Regions from separate parts of the Homo sapiens genome. Here regions 1, 3, 4 and 5 are each linked to region 2. The links are contacts of gene promoters, found by promoter capture Hi-C in blood cells and fetal thymus (Javierre and others, 2016). All regions are on one chromosome and are shown on one strand. Each heading gives the region's core, a stretch centred on a gene start or on the middle of the fragment in contact. The rest is flanking DNA. Distances are from core to core; before and after follow the strand shown. Region 1 overlaps NOPCHAP1 (NOP protein chaperone 1). Region 2 holds the start of TXNRD1-AS1 (TXNRD1 antisense RNA 1). Region 3 overlaps ALDH1L2 (aldehyde dehydrogenase 1 family member L2). Region 4 overlaps SLC41A2 (solute carrier family 41 member 2). Region 5 overlaps WASHC4 (WASH complex subunit 4).

Evidence for each region. The method cuts DNA at HindIII sites, captures the fragments that hold promoters and counts their contacts. A CHiCAGO score of 5 or more calls a contact.
Region 1: a fragment that was not itself captured here is called in contact with the fragment with the promoter of TXNRD1-AS1 in region 2 in 2 of 17 cell types (monocytes and fetal thymus); the score reaches 6.2 in monocytes.
Region 3: a fragment that was not itself captured here is called in contact with the fragment with the promoter of TXNRD1-AS1 in region 2 in 2 of 17 cell types (total B cells and naive B cells); the score reaches 7.7 in total B cells.
Region 4: a fragment that was not itself captured here is called in contact with the fragment with the promoter of TXNRD1-AS1 in region 2 in 1 of 17 cell types (neutrophils); the score reaches 6.3 in neutrophils.
Region 5: a contact is called between a fragment that was not itself captured here and the fragment with the promoter of TXNRD1-AS1 in region 2, in 8 of 17 cell types (neutrophils, fetal thymus, total CD4 T cells and 5 more). The highest score is 9.4, in neutrophils.

Annotation. Positions count from the first base shown.
Region 1 is chr12:104,994,612-104,997,311 of GRCh38, reverse strand. NOPCHAP1 (NOP protein chaperone 1) reads right to left here. Exons shown (of 4, transcript NM_152318.3): 4 at 1-2,700. The coding sequence ends at 2,616. Among named protein-coding and RNA genes, the nearest start is that of NOPCHAP1, 9.6 kb to the right of the region's middle. The HindIII fragment of the contact is 2,723 bases long and covers 1-2,689 here.
Region 2 is chr12:104,279,453-104,282,219 of GRCh38, reverse strand. TXNRD1-AS1 (TXNRD1 antisense RNA 1) reads left to right here and starts at 1,377. Exons shown (of 2, transcript XR_007063431.1): 1 at 1,377-1,936. All of the region lies in intron 3 of TXNRD1 (thioredoxin reductase 1), which reads right to left. RefSeq lists a silencer at 1-149. The HindIII fragment of the contact is 3,745 bases long and covers 1-2,767 here.
Region 3 is chr12:105,064,857-105,067,556 of GRCh38, reverse strand. It overlaps ALDH1L2 (aldehyde dehydrogenase 1 family member L2), which reads left to right. Exons shown (of 23, transcript NM_001034173.4): 5 at 888-989; 6 at 2,201-2,290. Among named protein-coding and RNA genes, the nearest start is that of ALDH1L2, 18 kb to the left of the region's middle. The HindIII fragment of the contact is 7,481 bases long and covers 1-2,700 here.
Region 4 is chr12:104,834,324-104,837,023 of GRCh38, reverse strand. The region is part of intron 10 of SLC41A2 (solute carrier family 41 member 2); the gene reads left to right. Among named protein-coding and RNA genes, the nearest start is that of SLC41A2, 120 kb to the left of the region's middle. The HindIII fragment of the contact is 4,028 bases long and covers 1-2,700 here.
Region 5 is chr12:105,112,519-105,115,290 of GRCh38, reverse strand. It overlaps WASHC4 (WASH complex subunit 4), which reads right to left. Exons shown (of 33, transcript NM_015275.3): 3 at 1,022-1,075; 4 at 864-929; 5 at 62-107. Among named protein-coding and RNA genes, the nearest start is that of WASHC4, 6.2 kb to the right of the region's middle. The HindIII fragment of the contact is 1,253 bases long and covers 627-1,879 here.

The DNA of each region.
Region 1 (2,700 bases), core at 79-2,578, 720 kb before region 2:
CAGGCAAATGCTAAGGGAATTTGTTAACATCAGATCTGCCTTACAAGAGTTTTGGAAGGGAGTGCTAACTATATAAAGGAAAGACTGGGTTACCAGCCGCTACAAAAACACACTTAAGTAGGTAGATTAGTAACACTATAAAGCAACCACACAGACAAGTCTGCATGGTAACCAGCTAACAATATGATGACAGGATCAAATGCACACATATCAATACTAACCTTGAATGTAAATGGGCTAAATGCCCCAATCAAAAGAAACAGTGTGGCAACTTGGATAAAGAAGCAAAATCCAATGGTATGCTATCTTCAAGAGACCCACCTCACATGCAGTGACACTCAGAAGCTCAAAGTAAAGGGATGGAGAAAACTCTACCAAGCAAACAGAAAGAAAAAGGCAGGGGTTGCTATTTTAATTTCAGACAAAACATACTTTTACAAAAATAAAAAAAGACAAAGAAGGGCATTACATAATGATAAAGGGCTTAATTCAATAAGACCTAACTATCCTAAACATACATGCACCCAACAGAGAAGCACCCAGATTCATAAAGCAAGCATTCAGAGACCTACAAAGAGAGCTAGATAATAGTGGGAGACTTTAACACCCCACTGACAGTATTAGGCAGATCATCAAGGCAGAAAGCTAACACAGATGATCAGGACCTAAGCAACCAACACAGGAACAGAAAAATACCACATGTTCTCACTTATTAGTGGGAGCTAAACGTTGAGTACACATGGATGCAAAGAAGGGAACCAGACATTAGGGCCCACTTGAGGATGGAGGGTGGGAGGAGGGTGCAGATTTAAAACTACCTATTGGGCACTATGCTTATCACCAGGTGATGAAATAATCTGTACACCAAACCCCCACAATACCCAATTTGTCTATATAACAAACCTCCACATGTACCTCTGAACCTAAAAGTTAAAAAAAAAAAAAATGAAAATAATAAAATGTAAAACATCTTTTTAAAAGGAGGGGAACTATAAAAAAGTAAGTTTCCTCCTGGACCTTGTTCAGGAGCTATGCAGATGTACCAGTGGATGAACTGAACTGACTGATGCTCAAATACCACTAGGTAGCCCTCTTTTCCAGCCTCAGAGGGTCTGCCTGTATTGGTCTACAGAAAATATGCTTACTCCATTTTGCTCCCCACTGGTTAGGATCTTGCTATTTGGCATGGTTCAATCCTGCCTTCCAAATAGCTTCCCCAAAAGTCCCCATAAATACCTCCTATTATCAGAGTCTAAAATGGTCAGCAATTGAAATTTGCACCAACCTTGGAATAGATGAAGAAAATAAAGATAAGCTAGTTTCCAGCCGGGCACGGTGGCTCATGCCTGTAATCCCAACACTTTGGCAGGTCAAGAAGGGTGGAACACGAGGTCAGGAGATTGAGACCATCCTGGCTAACACGGTGAAATCCCGTCTCTACTAAAAATACAAAAAAAAAAAAAATTAGCCGGGCATGGTGGTGGGCGCCTGTACTCCCAGCTACTGAGGAGGCTGAGGCAGGAGAATGGCGTGAACCCGGGAGGCAGAGCTTGTAGTGAGCTGAGATCGCGCCACTGCACTCCAGCCTGAGCAACAGAGCAAGACTCCATCTCGAAAAAAAAAAAGATATGCTAGTTTCCACTGAGGAAAGATTACAGTGGGGCTCCTGGGGACTCACTCTTTGTAGTGGTTGGGTGCTAGTCATATGGAATTTAAAACTAATGCACAGATAGGGAAAAATCTTATTTTATGACCAACCAGACCTCCTGGGGTAGGAGCCACCCTCTGAAAGCATTTAACAAAAGCACTTAATGGGATATCATGCAGCCTTAGATCTCCTCTTTGCTCATGTTGGGGGTTATGTATGGTGCTAAACAAAACTGAATGTTGTACCTATTTTTCCAGATTTTGCTACTACAGAAAATTCAATACAATTTGTAGCTGACACTATTGTTTCTTTGGACACTGCCACCATATGCATGAAAGAAATTTCTCAAGGGAACAGAACACATGATGTTTGCAGGAGGAGCTAATGGTTAGTTTGCAGGCATCCCAAACAGTGGACGACATGCTGGGCTTAGGTCTCCTCTTTGCCTTATTTAGGCAAACACCTAGCTGTAACCCATCAAGTTATTCCTGTACTCTACACACCAAAACCTAACTCAGGAGTGTATTTTTATAACAAATAGCCAAGTCTGGCCAATCACAAACAGCCAAGCCTCAGCCCATCGGACAAGGCAGCCTTAGATCTCCTTAGATCAGACCATACCTATGGGACATCAGGCAGCCTTAGGTCTCCTCTTTGCCTTATTTAGGCAAACACCTAGCTGTAACCCATCAAGTTATTCCTGTACTCTACTTCTGTGTTCAGCTGATAAAAGCACACTTTCCTTGCTGTAGAGCGGAGGTCTCTGAACCCCTTTCAGTTTACAATGCTACCTAACTCATTAATCATTCTTTGCCCAAAGAAACTCTGTCAAATTTAACTTGTCTAAAGTTTTTAACATATAAAAGCACCATAGGTGCCTGAAAAGCAAAAGAACCCGTGAATCACATTCTTTTTCACAGAATTTGCAGACATATGTCACCTGTTTCTTTTCAGATAATTTATTTGACTATTTCTTTTTTTTACTTGCTGGACTGTCCAAAACTTCAATCTTGCCTTTTCCACCTTCAGAATTGGGAAGCTTAATGTTATCT
Region 2 (2,767 bases), core at 128-2,627:
CAGAGCTTGCTAGCTCCCCAAACCCTAACTAGTCCCAAAGAACTTTCTTGAAGAGCAATATGTAACAGCTCTCCTGTTTCTAAAACCTCTAACCTTCTCTTTGTTCTTCAGACATACTGAAGACCACCCTGTCTGCATATATGCCCCAAATTGCTATTCTTTCTTTCCAAATAAAAAATTTTAATTTAGAGACTTGTCTCACATTTTTATTCTGGCTTCAACATACTAAAGCCCTAAGCTAGGAGTCTGCTTGACTTATCCAAGAATCCACAAAGTAACCAGTATGTCTAAAGCCTAATGAGTGAGAAAAAAAGTGGTAGGAAGTGAGGTCAGAGGAATAGCCAGGGGTCACATCCATCATCAGGCCATAGTCAGGATTTTGGATTTCATTTTAAATGTGGTAAGATGCCAGAGTGTGAAGAGAAGAGAAGGAAATGATTGTTGTATGATAAAATAATTGCTCAGTTGTGTGGAAAATAGGCTAAGGAGGGCAGGGACTTAAAAGTGGAGATATGGCCGGGCTCGGTGGCTCATGTCTGTAATCCCAGCACTTCAGGAGGCTGAGGCGGGCGGATCACGAGGTCAGGAGATTGAGATGAGCCTGGCTAACACAGTGAAACCCCATCTCTACTAAAAATACAAAAAATTAACCGGGCGTGGTAGCAGGCGCCTGTAGTCCCAGCTACTGGGGAGGCTGAGGCAGGAGAATGGCGTGAACCCGGGAGGCGGAGTTTGCAGTGAGCCGAGATCCCACCACTGCACTCCAGCCCGGGCGACACAGTGAGACTCCATCTCAAAAAGAAAAAAAAAAAAAAAAAAAGTGGAGATATGGAGATATACAGACCTGCTAGGAAGTTACTGTCCTGGTCCAAGCTAGAGATGATAAAGGCTGATTAGTGAGGTTAAAAAATACATTTGAAGGTAAAGCTAATTGCACAGATATATGTTGTACAGTTGTACAGATGGATGGAATAAGAGATGTAAGAGAAAGAGAATCAATGATAACGCTAGATTTCTGGCTTTAGCAATGGGGTAAATAATAGCACTCTTCAATGAAAAGCAGGAACACCCAGAGAGGAGGAAGAAAGATGGGAGGTGGGGGAAAACAATAGTTTGGGACAAATCCATAGTATGGGTTAACAGATCTATTATTATCCAAATGGAGAGGTTGACTAAGCAGTTGGATATGTAAGTATGGAGTTCAAGGGAGAAGTCAAGGCTAGAAATAAACATTTGGTGTCAAACATAAAAGATATTTAATACCATGTGTATTAGTCACAGCTCTTCAGAGAAACAGAACCAATAGGATACATGTATATATAGAGAGATTTTTTTCTTTTCTTTTTTTTAAAGAATTGACTCACACAGTTGTGAGGGCTGATAAGTCTGAAAACTCCAAGGCTGGCTGATAGGCTGGAAATTCAAGCAGGCATTGATGTGGCAATCTTGAGACTAACGGTGGTCTGGGTGCAGAATTGCTTCCTCTTTGGGAAACCTCCATCTTTTCTCTAAGGTCTTCAACTAATTGGATGAAGCCCATCCACATTATGGAGGGTCACTAGCTTTACTCAAAGCCTACTGATTTCATTGTAAGTCACATCTAAAAAATACCTTCACAGCAACATCTATGCTTTTATCTGCCAAACAACTGGGCACCGTATGCTAGCCAAGTTGACACATAAAATTAACTGTCACTCCATGGGACTAGATGAAATTACCCAGGAGTTAATGTATTTAGAGAAATAAAGATGGCCCAGGACAGAGCCCTGGCACGCTCAAACTGCAAAAGGGGAAAAGAACCCAGCAATGGAGCCTAAGAAGGAGCTGGCAGGAGGTAGGAGGAAAACCAAGACTGTGTGGTGTCTCAGAAGCCAATGAAGAAGTGCTCCAAAAAGGAAGATCAACTATTTCAAGCACTGCCAAGAAATCCTATAAGGTAAGGGCTGAGTCATGGAGGTCACTTATGAAAATGGTGGTAGGTAAGAAATCCTAATTAGAAGAAGTTCAGCAAGAAACAGAAAATAAGGAAATGGAGGGAGTAAGTATAGGCAACTCTTAAAGGGGTTTTGCTATAAAAACAAAACAAAACAAAACAACAATAGGAAAGGAGCTAAAGAGGGATGTAGGATAGAGGAATTTTTTTTTTTTTTTTTTTTTGAGACAGAGTCTCACTCTGTCACCCAGGCTGGAGTGCAGAGGCACGATCTCAGCTCATTGCAACCTCTGCCTCCTGGGTTCAAGCAATTCTCCTGCCTCAGCCTCTCGAGTAGCTGGGACTACAGGTGCATGCCACCACACCCAGCTAATTTTTGTATTTTCAGTAGAGAGAGGGTTTCACCATGTTGGCCAGGCTGGTCTTCAACTCCTGACTTCGTGATCCACCCTCCTCGGCCTCCCAAAGTGCTGGGATTACAGGGGTGAGCCACCGTGCCTGGCCAGACTTTTTGGTTTTTTTGGTTTGTCTAAGAAGGAAATTATTACAGCATGTTTTTATGCTAAAGGAATAATCCAGTAGAGGGAACTTTGGCAATTTCCAAAGAAGGAGCAAAAAGAGATAATTGCAGAACCAAAGTCTGTTGAATATACCCTTATTATGCAGTGTAGACTTTGAAGTCAAATCCAGGTTCTATTACTAACTGCAAAGCCAAGTTACTAAGCCTCTCTGCTTCTTCATCTTCTTTCTACAAGGCCCTTTGTGGTCCTTCCACCCCTTCATCTCACCCAAACTTCTCCTCAATCCCCATGATTCAGTCATTAGCTTGCTTTC
Region 3 (2,700 bases), core at 148-2,647, 790 kb before region 2:
ATGGATAGATTTTAACTTTTTTTATTCCAGGTCTCCTAAACTAGAAAGCAAGTTGAATTCATTAAATACAGTAAGGTATCATTTTTTAGAATCATCATGATGAGTAAAATAACTCATAAAGACTTATTTTATCATTATATTCCTATCATTTCCAGTGAATCACTAAGGGAGGTGGCAGTTTGTTTAAACAAGGGAGTCATTTTTGAGAGTGCAGACTTCGATTGGCAATAGATAGACCTGGATACAAATCCTGTTTCTGACACCTACAAGCTCTCTCTGTGATCTTCAGCCAATTGCTTAGCTCTTTTTCTTTTTCTTTTCTTTTTTTTTTTTTTTTTTTTGAGACAGAGTCTCGCTCTGTCGCCCAGGCTGGAGTGCAGTGGTGTGATCTCGGCTCACTGCAAGCTCTGCCTCCCGGGTTCACGCCATTCTCCTGCCTCAGCCTCCTGAGTAGCTGGGACTACAGGCGCCCACCACCACGCCCGGCTGATTTTTTGTATTTTTAGTAGAGACGGGGTTTCACCGTGGCCTCGATCTCCTGACTTCGTGATCCGCCTGCCTTGGCCTCCCAAAGTGCTGGGATTACAGGCGTGAGCCACTGCGCCCGGCCTTGCTTAGCTCTTTTTCTGTCAGTTTCCTCAGGTGTAAAACAGGAATAACAATATACACCTTGCAGGATTTGTGTTATGTTTTCAAGGGATATTTTACATAAAGTAGCTACCACACTGCTTGTCAGGATGGACCTGAAGAAATGGTAGTTATCATCATACTCTTGACTCTCTGAACAGGTTTATAGGTAGTAATTCTGTTATGCAGAAACTTTAGTCAAATAGACCATGCCATTGTTGATCATTGGGCTGTAACACAGGTGATGTCTTTGGCCTTAGGTAGAAGCTGTCCAACTCATAGCTGATGGAAAAGCTCCTCGTATACCCCAGCCAGAAGAAGGGGCAACATATGAAGGTATCCAGAAAAAGGAAAATGCTGAGGTATTTATATATCAACTCAATAACACGTCTCAGAGTTCATGGCCCTCTACCCTTCAGTAGTTCCCCACATACTATGATCTTGCCAAAAGGTAAGCCAGCTTGCCCTAGCCCTACCTGTTAGAGTAGACAGGTAGCCAGACATACGCAGGAGAGGGGAGTCCCCTAAAGAAAATAAAGTCTAGGAAGACTCGTGTCTGGAAGACCACTCAAAATTTGCATATTAATAGTATCTCTAATGCTGGAGTGGGTGGGCACTTAGTCAAATGTGCATAGAAAGGAGAGGAGATACTATGCAAACAAACAAACAAACAAGCAAATAAAAAATGCCCAGAAACGCCTCTTCAGTCTGCCCAACAATCCTTCGCTCTGCAGTTAAAATGTCAAAATATCACTAGCTACATGCTAATGAAAAGGGCAAAGGGGATATTCCTTAAAAAATCTGGCATGCTAGGTGCGCTGGGCACAGTGGCTCATGCCTGTAATCCCAGCACTTTGGGAGGCTGAGGGAGGAGGATCACTTGAGACCAGGCATTCGAGACCAGCCTGGCCAACACAGTGAGACCCCTGTCTCAAAAAACAAAAAACAAAAACCTGGAGCCATAAGTTCAGCTTAGGGCAGAGAAGGAAATTCCAAAAAAACACACAGATGCAGTAGGTATAGATTTGGCCACTATACAACCTCCCTGCAGTGACAATAGTAAACAACACAGGCATCAGGTAATATTCATATCCAACACCAATCCACACATACACACCAACTAATAATATGGAGGGTCCCATAAACCTGAGACAAAATCTAGGTGCGGACAAAGCAGAGAGCTAAGACAGACACAAACAAACTAGACAAAAAAAAAAAGAGGCAGAGACTTAACAGAGGTGGGAACTTCAAAAAAAAGTTCAACCTAATAAAAACCCAACATAAAACTCTCCAACAGCTACTGGCCTACTCCCCTCAACAGCCCGCTCTACTTCATCTTTACAAAGCATACTGTCCCTTTAAATAACCCTCTGCTTTTTATTTTCCTTTAATAAAGTCTCTTGTTTACTAAATCAGCCACCTGACAAAATACTTACTCCAAATAAAACTAAGAAGCAAAAATTCCTTTATTTCCCAATAACAAGTGTTTCTGCCTCTGATGACGAGAAGCGTTTTTATTGCCTTTGAGGTTCACAGCCATAGGAGGCTCAGCCTGTATTTTGTGCCTTCCTAGATTTCTTGGGACCAGTCTGCCGAAGTTTTACATAACTGGATTCGAGGTCATGATAAAGTCCCTGGAGCTTGGACAGAGATAAATGGACAGGTATGTTTTAGGGACCACTCCCCCCACCCCCCTCCCCGATTATTACCTTTGTAAGAGATATTACAGATAAATCTGGGCTTCCCATGGTTCTTCCTTGGTCATGAGGCAGGTCTGTGATTCACTCTCCCCTTTACTCAGCATGTATTAAGCATTTATTGTGCAGCAGACACTAAATCCAGCGCCTGATCTAAGGAGCCTGCAGTTTTATGGGGAGTGCAGAGAAGTGAATAAACATTCTCAGTGCAGTAAGATAAACGCTATCATGGAGGCTGAGACTCAGGCATGTTAGGAAAGGCTTCCTAGAAAAGCTCACTGCTTTGCTCGAGAAGAGTTAACCAGGTTGAGAGCAAGACAAGTAGGTGAAGCCCCAGAGATAAGAGACTCCAGCACCTGGTCAAGGACTTGCAAAA
Region 4 (2,700 bases), core at 187-2,686, 550 kb before region 2:
GTGACCCTAGCTATCACTCAGATCCCATCCAGCATTCATGATGTATGATTTTACGAGTTGCCATTCCTACAGTACAGATGATGTGTTACAAAACCATTGTCGTACATAACTAGTAAAATATATGTTAATACTAAAACAATCTGGCAATTAAAATAGTCTATTAATATTAAAATCATCTGTTGTTACTCCTAGAGTAATATTAAGTTAAACTGGCTTGTATGGATTAGCCAGAAAACCCAGGCAATACAGAAAACCTTGTTTTCCTGAAAACAATTGTATTCCAAGTCTAAATAGCTAATTTTAAATTCATCTATTAGACACTATCAATTTTTAAATTTGTTTGACCTAAAACAATCTCCTTCAGGTTTCCAGATGGACTCCTTGGTTCTACTGTCTCTGTACTTTACCTAGAAAGTGTATATTCACCTATCTCTGCCATCATTTGATTTATTATTTTATAGTGTTCAGTTATATCTTCTCTTGATCTGTAACTTTTCAGAGGAAAATGGTACTGCTTCATTTATATATAAGCCATTTTATATGCTTCACCTAAATTGTTTCTTCTGAAAGTTTTTGATCTCTAACAGTTCCCCTCTTGGAACTGGAGCCACTTTTCCAATCTACATATGAGTTTCAAAAATAATAATGGCAAATATTTGTATAGTATTTATCATGAGCCATACAATGTTCTAGGCACTTTATGTATATGAACTGATTGAGTCCTCACAACAGCCCAGTAAGGAAGGTTCTGTTATCATTTCCTATTCACAGATGAGGCAGTTGGCATAGAAGTTAAGTGATTTGTCCAAGTCCACACAGCAAGATGGAGACTGGCTCCAGTCTACATTCCTAACCACTGTGTTTTATAAGAATAAGTTTGGGGCTGGGTGTGGGACTCACACCTCTAATCCCAGCATTTTGGGAGGCCAAGGCGGATGGATCACCTGAACTCAGGAGTTTGAGACCAGCCTGGCCAACATGGTGAAACCCCATCTCTACTAAAAATACAAAATTAGCTGGGCATGGTGGCTTGTGCCTGTAATCTCAGCTACTGTGGAGGCTGAAGCAGGAGAATCACTTAGAACCCAGGAGGCGGAGGTTGCAGTGAGCTGAGATCATGCCACTGCACTCCAGCCTGGGCAACAGAGCAAGACTCTGTCTCAAAAAAAAAATGATGCTTTGTTTTGCTCTTAGTGAGGATCATAGTTTTTAGGATGGCAACTTCTAAAGATTTACAGCTGCCTCTTCTCTGTGGTTTCATTAGATCTTCAACTTCTTCCAGCCAGGCATATTGCCCCAGAAGGATATTCATTCCACAGGATCCATACCGAATCAATGCCTACTGAAGTCAAGTAGGAATCCATTCCAAGCACATAAATATCTCCTGAATGTTCTGAGAGAAGGACAAACTGCTATGGAAGTTCAATAGTGGGAGAGGTTTTTCTATGTGGGGAGGAAGTTTTATAGTGGATAACAATTTGCTTTGTTGGAATCCATAGAAAATGCCGTTTCAGCTAAAAGGAGTAGCATTAGGCAAATGAGAAAAACTCAGGGTATTTATGGAAAACAGCCAGAAATTTCCTGGAGTTAAAAGGAGTGATGAAAAATAAGGTTAGAAATTATAGGTTGTAGCAAGATCATCAAGGAGCTTAAAGAACAGATGATAAAGAGTTTAGTTTATTCTATAGAGTGGTGATTTTCAACTATTTTCCACTCCCAACAAACTTGAGAGATCTGACACATTCCTCTGATGCAGTGTGAGATAATTTATAGGGCTTGGGCTCTGGCTTCCACCATCAAATACCTGCATCAGCTAGGCAGTCACTGCTCAGGCACTGTTTCCCACCTGTATAAAGGGGCTAAGACTAGACCAACCTTGTGGGTTGTTATAAGGATGAAATGATGCATTTAAGGTGCTATTATTTTCATCATTATTGTCTTATTTTTTAATATCAACATCATCATCATCAATAGCTATGGATTACTGGGACAGTGACTCTCTTAGGGTGGCAGTGGAGCAATCAGAACCTATGAAACCAGCATTAAGAGTCTCTACCTTGATTCTGATACCTTACTCCATTCCTTGGAGTCACTTTTCTAGATAAGGAAGAATGTAGCCATATGGTAACAACATGACTATAATTGGAATCCCAGGATAACTACCCAGTAGCTGAGCAAGTTAATTAGCTTGGCCTCAGGCAAGTTACTTTATTCCTTGGAGTCTTATTTTCTTTGCATATAAAATGATAAGGCTTCCTTTTTGCACAGCAGTTATAATATTTAAATACTTGACACATAGTAGGCCCTCATTAAATGATGTAGTTATGTCTTTTTTTTTTTTTAAATCATGATGCTAACTCAAACCCTGTTCCCAGATGGCATCTCAAAGGAAAAACCTAAGCAACCAGGAGATTTAAACAGGTTACTTAATCTTCATATTTCTTCTCACTCCTCAGGATTTAATTCTACCAGATTCTAACTGAAAGTAGGAGCTCTTTATTTTGTCTATGTGACTGTTCTGCCTCTGTCTCTTAATTGGTTTCTCTGTCTGTCAGCTTGGGTTGAAGGAGAAGTATAAAGAGAATGATAAAGGAGATATGAAGGGAGGGCCTATAGTTCCTAGAATTTTTTTTCTAGCTGTAAAAACAGCTCCTTTAACTTTTGGAGTTGATCAATATGCTTACCTTAAGATAGGAAGTT
Region 5 (2,772 bases), core at 4-2,503, 830 kb before region 2:
TGTTAACTTTTTGTTCATTTCAATATCAAAAAGGCATCACAATTTGGAATTTTAAACTTACCTCCTTCTCCATAAAACAAGAGACCATTGTAAAATTTAGTTTCAGCCTGTTTTTAAGAAAAAAATTAAAATAATTTTAAAGGTTGTTTTGTTTCCAAATTCCTATGCTCTCTTAGATCTGTATACTTAGTAATAAACAGAGGGCTACATCATTTGCATACAAATTCATTTAAATTCAAAATCTGTTTATAAAGCAATTCATCTTTAGAGTAACAAAAATATTACTGATACTCAAAGCTGTATCTTGATTCCTTTAGCCTTTACTTCATCTTATCTGACCACCCTCACTGTCCCACATCCTCCCATTAGTTTATGGGAAATAAAGAGCAACCACATGGTATCAAAAAGCAGGAGAAGAAAATACGAAGTTTGTCAACTTCTACCAGACTTTTAATGGTTCTTGGGTAAGGAAACACAAAACTAAATGCATTTTAAGAAAAAAAAATCAGTTTTCTCTAGATAGCCAGTATATATGGCAGGTAACACAAACTCTGGAGGTTTGTAAACCTAGATTCAAACTGTTGACTACCAGTAAGATGTTATGCAAGTGACACTCTCTTTAAGCTTCAGTTTCCTCATCAATGTCTCACCTACCTCCTGGGGTTACTATAAGGATTACAGTGTTAGCCTGGTGTTTTGTACATACTAAGTACTCAATGAATGGTAGTCCGTATTAGTATTACGTTAAATAAATAATTCATTCAACATTCAATAAATATTTATTGCACACTGTACATATATAAACACATACTTGCTTCTAAATGATGTTTTTAAAGTTTTAAGACAAGAATTCAAATAATTACCTCATATTTTAATTTCTTGATTTCACAACAAAGTGCAGCATAAACAGTGATGACTTTGTTTAAGACCTAGTTTCATGAGTAAAAACAAAATAAAAAGTAAATTGTTACAGATAACTAAAACATTTTTAAAACAATTTTTTAGATTTAGGATTCTGTACCTTGTTTTCAGTCTTTATGAGTTCCAAAAGAGAGGACTGTTCATAAGGCAAAAGCTACAGAAACAAAGGAAAAGAACATTTCTTTTAATTTGAAAAATAACTGAAATTTTAAAAACACAAATTGAGGCTAGCTTTATTCGACTTAAACTTGTGTTAGATCCTGTACTCAACATTAGCACCATATCAACTACTTCATCCAAAACAATCTCATTAGACAACACGTAAGGAAAGAAATGGCCCAACATGACACAATCACGACTCTACTTGTCCTATGGAGCATAAGGTGGCTGATTATGAGTGCAGTATAAGAAAATGCAAGGTAATAAGGTAATAGTAACATTATTAAACTCCATTAGTTATGATCATGGGGAAAAACCTTTCATCATTTTTGAATTTTCTATGCAGCCACAAATTTAATAAGATATTGTAGCTAAAGGGTCAAAATAAATTAAGAATGAAACAAGACAGAAAATACATCTTTTCTTGTATAAATCCATGCTCAGAAACACTTAAAATAGTATGTGGAGTTCACTCCTAAAGCCCGTTCAATTTCCACCTCTTCCTGATCATTGACTATATGTGATCTATTTATCAAGTGAAATCTCAGATCTCCCTTCTGGTTACATACTAACTAACTATTTATGCAAGTAAGTTATTATATACCCTTTCTCATTAGGTTGTAATTTTTGTTTACAGAGGTTTTATCTGAGTTTGTGGTTTTTCCCAAAATACTAAGAACCTTGTATAGTAAAAACAATAAAATAACTGCCCAATAATAGAACTTAAACAGAGGTTCCGAAGAGAGCAACTGCGGAGATGGAGTCTGTCATATAATAAGATTGTAAAGATTAGAAAGCTTCTGTAGGGGAAGATAAAAACTAAGAGATGATTTCACCCTTTTATAAAATCTGAGAGTTGAGAAAAAAAACAGATTTTATAATCCTATCTAGAAGAGGCCCTTAAAGCCCAACAGCAAGTCTTAAAAAAATCAACAAGTATTACTTAATGGCGAGAAAGCCCAACAGCATCTGTTTAAAAAATCAACATGTATTACTTAATGCCAAGTGACAGATATATGAAACTTATTACCCTCAGAGATAGTACAGGTTGAGAATGACAGTTTCCTAGTAGAGTTCCTATAACTTACATACAATGATTCTCACAGAAGTGTTGAGGAACAAAAAGAGACAATTACAAATTTGGGGGGGGATGATTTTTAAAGTAAGACTAAGTCTATCCAGCCTGCAAGAAAAGAAGTCAAAGGAAAGTAATTTCAGTTTACAAATATATAAAGTATTTGTGAGGCAGTTCAGGGTATTGGATAAGGGCACAGGCTCTGGAGTCAAGCTGCCTGATATTCATTATTTAACTAAATGTGTCACTTACTTGACTAAGTTACTTAACTTTTCTATGCCTTAGTTTTCTCATTTACAAATGGAGATGACATTGTATCTACTTTATAGGATTGTGGTGGGAATTAAAAGTCAATACTTGTCCTATAATGCAATACTAAAAAGATAACCCAATTTAAAAATGGGCAAAGGATGTGAACAGACATTTCTCCAAAGAAAACAGACACATGGCCATAAGCACATGAAAAGATGCTCAACATTATTAGCCATCAGAAATGCAAATCAAAGCCACAATGAGCTTTCACATTCACTAGGAAGAATATAATCAAGACAATAAAGGCTGGCAAGGATGTAGAGAAACTGGAACCCTCATGCAGTGCTGGTAGTAATGTAAAATGG